Regions from separate parts of the Homo sapiens genome. Here region 2 is linked to region 1. The links are contacts of gene promoters, found by promoter capture Hi-C in human tissues and cell types (Jung and others, 2019). All regions are on one chromosome and are shown on one strand. The core of a region is centred on a gene start or on the middle of the fragment in contact, and the rest is flanking DNA. Distances in the headings are between cores, read along the strand shown. Region 1 holds the start of UTF1 (undifferentiated embryonic cell transcription factor 1). Region 2 overlaps CFAP46 (cilia and flagella associated protein 46).

Region 1 (2,700 bases), core at 194-2,693:
TGATGAGAGCGTCGCAACCCTGCCCTGACCTTTGCAGCCCCAGCACTGCAGGGCGCCACTCCCTCCCCGTCTCCAGACCCGCACTCCTACACAGCCCGGACTCTAGGAAAACAATCCTTTTATTGAACATACCCAAGAACGGGGGTGGGAAGGCAGCAGGAGGGGTCAGGGCGGAGGGGCCTCGGCCTGGAGAGGGGAGACTGGCCGCAGCCGGGACTCACTGGCACGGGTCCCTGAGGACCCCTCGCTCGGCGGCCGCGCTGCCCAGAATGAAGCCCACGGCCAGGGACACTGTCTGGTCGAAGGCGCCGCGCAGCTGCTCCACGTGCTGGTTCAAGGTCAGCAGCTGGTCGCGCAGCGGGCCCAGGATGTTCGCGATGTCGCCCAGGTGCCCCAGGGTCTGCAGCAGGGCGGTGTTCAGCGACGGGGGCGCGGCCGGAGGGGGCGCGCAGTCCTCGGGGCGGCCGGGCGGCGAGTCGGGGTCTTCGCGGGCCGGGGGTGGCGGCGGGGACCCGGGGCCGCGGACGGGCGCGCGGTCCTCGGGGATGCAGGTGGCGAGGGCGGTCGGGGCGGGAGCTGGCGGGGAGCCGGGGGCGGGGGAGGCGTCCGCAGACTTCGGTGGGGACGGGCTGAAGCGGAGCGTCCAGGTGGGGTCCGCGTCGCGGTCGCGGGCGGTGGGCAGCGGGGTGGCGTCTGGGAACGCGGAGCAGGCGGTCGGGCGGATTTTCGCGGGGCGCGCCCGCCCCTCCCCCGCAGCCCTCGGCAGCCCCCGGTTCCTCCGCAGTCCTCGGCCCCACCTGGCCCCCCAGTCCCCCGCCTACCTGGTTCGCTGGGAGCCGGCGCGTGCGCGTTGGGGACCGGGCGGCGGGCGCGCTGGGGGCGCCCGGACCCCGGGGAGCGGCGGCGAGGCCGTTTGCGCCCGTTGTCGCCCAGCAGCCCCATGAGCTTCCGGATCTGCTCGTCGAAGGGCCCGGGCGGCTGGCCGTGCGCCTCGCGAAACTTGTCTTTAAGGAACTTGTAGCGGCGGCGGCACTGCGCGGGGGTGCGGCGCACCTGCTGCTGGGCCAGCGCGGCCGACACGCGGCGGTAGGTGGGCAGGGCCTGGCGGCGGTCCAGGAGCAGCGCGCGCCACACGGCCGGTTGCAGCAGCGTCCCCAGCAGCAGCTCCGTCTCCCGGGCGCTCCAGGGCGTGCGCTGCGCCGAGCCCGGGGACACCGGCAACCCGAGTTCCCCCAGCGCGCTGGGCGAGGCGGGCCTCCGGGGCGGGGTCCCCGGGGCGTCTCCGGGTGTCCGCGGCTCGGGGTCGGGGCTGGCGGGCGAGGGCGGCGCGGGGGGCGCGAGCGGGGGCGGCCTGCGGGGCCGGAGCAGCATCCCGGGGCTGGGGCGCGGCGCGCGAGGATGGGGAGAGGGCCAGACGCCGCCCGGGCCGCCCACACGCGTTCTGAGCATCCCGCGCCGCCGTCCCTCCGTCCCAGCCGGGTCTACGCGACCCTCCCACCATCCCCGCCCCGCCCCGCGCGCCCCGCCCCGCCCGCCGGGTCCTAAGGGGTCGGTCCTGGCGCTGCGGCCGGGAAGACGCAGAGCAAAGACTGGCTTCGGTTGGAAACGGAGGGTCCTCAGGAGTTCTGTTCTTAGACCCGTTCAACGGAGGTGCCGCGATGCCTAAGCCCCGGCGGCTCCGCTCGTTTTTAGCCTGTGCCGAGCCTACCCCCGCCCCCGTCGAGGTGTGTGCGGAGCCCCTCCCGCTCCGGAAGGCGCTGGCGCCCCCTTGTCCGGCCCCCAGTGCTGCCCCCGCCCCCGCCGCCCCCGCCCGGGCTCAGCACCTGCACGCGAGGGGTCCGGAGGACCGACCCGGGTCCCAGGGGGAGTCGCCAGGCCAGGGGATGGGTCCGAGGAGAAGCCACGCCAGCCGCGGGAATGGGTGTCGGAATTCACGCGCTCGCAGAAGTAGCTTTTAAAATCTGAACTTCTTCCATCTGCAGCGCGTCTGCAGCCAGCATCCCTGGGAGGAGGAAATTCTCTTCCTATTAAATGCTCTTCCTCCTTGCCGCACGGCGCCGAGTCCTTCTGTCTCCTGGGTCTCCTCTGGGCCGTGGCAGCTTCTCGCGTCCTCGACACGGTTGAGGACGGGCCAGGTGTTTTGTTGAATGTTCCTCGACTTGGGTTTGCCTGGTGTCTTCCTGTGATCCGACTAGGGTGGTGGGTTTTAGGAAGGAAGGCGCAGGGGTGGAGTCTCGCCCCTCCTGTCTTGTGGCTCAGCACCGGTGAGGTCTGCTCCGTGCTGGGGTGCGGACTGTCTGCCACTCTTGCAGTCTTCAGGTATCGCCTTTCCATCCCTGCTCTGGTCACTGGAATCCGGCCCCTCAGCCCATCCCCAACTCATGGGGAGAGTAATTAGGCCCCACCTCCTGGAGGGGTGTCTGTATTTTCTGGGATTCTTCTGTAAGGTTTGTCTCTCTGCCTGTTGATTTATTTACTCAGTCATTTATTTCTACAGTGTGGGCTCGTGTATATTTATTTTATCCTTTAGGTCATAACCCGATGCTGTTATTATTTATTTGTTTTAAAAGTTCTGTTTGTTTTTATTATTTTTTACAAATGGGGTCTCTTTCTGTCACTCAGGCTGGAGTGCAGTGGCCTGATCACAGCTCACTGTAGCCTTGAACTCTTGGGCCCAAGTGATCCTCCAGCCTCAGCTTC
Region 2 (2,700 bases), core at 116-2,615, 400 kb after region 1:
TCTCAGGGTGACCCTCCAGAGGATGGGCCAGGTGCTATGGGGCCCTCGTTGCCGAGCCAGGTGCCCTTGTCCACCATGCTGTTTGCAGAAGGGGCAGGAGCTCGGCCTTTCTGCAGGGGCCTGGCCCTCGCGGGGTCTGGGCCATGCGCCCTGTTTGCTACGGGGGCCTCTTTTTTGGATTGCGGTAGGAACCAGAAGGCCTGCAGGTGGAAGAGAAGGAGCGCCCTGTGCAGAGGCTCAGTAGCGTCCTGGGGCCCCTGGAGGAGCTTCTGCAGCCGCTATTCCCCCTGCTCAGCCTCTCCAAGGCCAGGTACTGGGGATGACGTTGAGGCTGGCACCCCACCACGCTCACGCATGGACACGTGTGTCCAGTGCTGTGGCCAACCACGTGTGCTTGCTGTGCCTTCTCGGCCGCCTTTGTTCAGGACTCGGCGCCGCCTGCCTGCTCCCAGGAAGCAATTCTTCTGGTTCTGCCTCCATTCCTGCCTGGAGGAGTACTGCCCACTGCCCACTGCCCACGGTCCCTCCAGCCCCTGGCCCAAGTGTGGGGTGGGAGGGCAAGCACCTCCAAGGGACCGCCCGGGCTGCTTTGATTTGGGGTGGGAAGGAAGGCAGAGGGGACGGACACCTGGCACCGTTTAGCTTGGCTGGTGGATCAGAGATGATCCCAAAATCCTGTGGCTCATCCCGGCCCCACCTCAGTGGGACCATCCCCAGAAGTGAGCGTGGGGATTCGTGGTGCTGCTGCCTTAGAGTGAAACAGGCTGAGCAGGTGTCGCCTATATTCCAAGCGTTTGTTATCTCTGTTTCTTAAACCCGAATATATAACCTGACTTTCAGAGTGCAGACACCTGCGGTTGTTGCCGATTCAGGGAAGTCGAAGGGCAAAGACAAGGAGAGGAAAACGTCCACAGGACAACACAGTGAGTGGGGCGGGCGTGGCCACTCAGCCTGGGGAGCTCATCCCGCCAGAAGAGGTGGGGTTGGGATCCACCCACCCATCCGGGAACGCCAGGGGGGGTCAGGAACCCAGGAGTCCCACAAGCCCTGCTGCTCCTTCCCCTGAGGCCTCCCTGCGCCTGAGGTCCCCGGAAGGTTCTCTGCACAGCCCTGGACCAGCCCTCTGGGTAGGAGGCTCTGTGCCAAGCCTCCTGAGAGCACCACGGAACCCAGCACAGCCACCTTCGCGTGGGTGGATTGTCAGCCCCGCCACACCACACGTGCTTGCTAACAAAAAGAATCGTGTGGAGGGACAGGCGTGATGGGAGGCTGTTCCTCGCCCCGTTCTGGGGCATCTGGAGGAGGAGGTGGCATGGAGTCAAGGCGGGCTGCCAGCCTTTCCCAGCGCCCAGCAGCCAAGTCAGAAGACGGAGCCCTGCGACCCCGTGGGAGGGGTCCCGTCTTCAGGAGCTGATCTCCCTGCACTGCTGTTTCCCAGGCACAGTCCAGCCTGAGGTTGCCGATAAGATAGTCCTGGTCGCAGACAGACATCTCCTGGAGCTGCCACTGGAAGGTCTCTCTGTGTTCGATGAAGGGACAATTTCCTCTGTGTCACGAGAATTTTCTCTTCAAATGCTGTGGAATCGCCTCCATAAAGAAGAGACAGGTAGGAACTGCCCTCAGCCACCTTAATGTGTAATTTTAAAATGGAAATATTTAAATTATTTTTCAGATGAAACAATGTTAGCTCCTATCAAGAAATAATCATCAAATGTTGCAACATTTTTCTAGGCATTTATTCATTCAAAGATATTTGTAGGATATAAATACTCACCAGCCTGGGCAACATGGTGAGAGTGCATCTCTACAAGAAAGTTTAAAATTAGCTGGGCATGGTGGTGTGCACCTGTGGTCCTGGCTACTCAGGAGGCTGGGAGGTGGGAGGATGGTTTGAGCCTGGGAGACTGAGGCTTTGGGGAGCTGAGATGGCGCCACTGCACTCCAGCCTGGGCAACAGAGTGAGACCCTGTCAAAAATAAAATATATATGTATATATATAAACACTCAAAACTATTTATAAAATACCTGCTATGTGCCAGTATCCTGGTGCTAAACACACAGGGAAGACAAACTTAACGCTGTTCTTGCCCCCACAAATACCTGTTTCAAAGGAGGGGACCAGATGTGTAGTAAACAGCCAGCCTCTCCGTTAATCACTCAGACAGTGAAAAGCACGAGGGAGCGCGCGGAAGGCCCTGACCTCGGCTGGGATTCGGGGGTGATGACATTCTGTGACTGAGTGCTGGCTGTGCAGACGTGCCCCGGTTGTGAAGCTTCCCCGAGCGCTACCCTTGCGGTACGTGCAGTTTTCTGCACTTCGGTATCAAATAAAATTAAAAATAAATCGATTGGACTTTTGCTTCCATCTCAGATGAAGTAACAGGGACCAGATTCGTTCTTCCAGCTGAGACAAATAAAAACCAGAGAAAAGCACATGAAATGAGGGTTTTCAAACATTGACGAGCAGTCCGCGCAGGACGGGGGGCCTCGAAGGGGGTTTGGCTGGCGAGCGCCATGGCCCACCCAGGTCTTACTCTCTGGGGAATTTCCAGGCCACAGCATTGGGGGGGGGGGGCAGGAAGAGCCCAGGGGTCTCCGCAAGTTGAGGACAGACAGTTTGGAGTCTGGGAAACTGACAACTACAACGTGCAGGGCGGGACACCTGGAAGGAGAGAGCTGCAAGGAACGGCCACTCCGAGA

The links. The method cuts DNA at HindIII sites, captures the fragments that hold promoters and counts their contacts. A contact is called where the count stands out against the background at its distance.
Region 2: a fragment that was not itself captured here is called in contact with the fragment with the promoter of UTF1 in region 1 in 2 of the 25 tissues and cell types used here (dorsolateral prefrontal cortex and spleen).

Annotation. Positions count from the first base shown.
Region 1 is chr10:133,228,960-133,231,659 of GRCh38, reverse strand. It overlaps UTF1 (undifferentiated embryonic cell transcription factor 1), which reads right to left and starts at 1,443. Exons shown (of 2, transcript NM_003577.3): 1 at 822-1,443; 2 at 102-693. The coding sequence starts at 1,371. The coding sequence ends at 218. RefSeq lists an enhancer at 662-1,461. The HindIII fragment of the contact is 26,740 bases long and covers 1-2,700 here.
Region 2 is chr10:132,832,264-132,834,963 of GRCh38, reverse strand. It overlaps CFAP46 (cilia and flagella associated protein 46), which reads left to right. Exons shown (of 58, transcript NM_001200049.3): 48 at 189-310; 49 at 841-923; 50 at 1,439-1,606. Among named protein-coding and RNA genes, the nearest start is that of NKX6-2, 47 kb to the right of the region's middle. The HindIII fragment of the contact is 6,011 bases long and covers 1-2,700 here.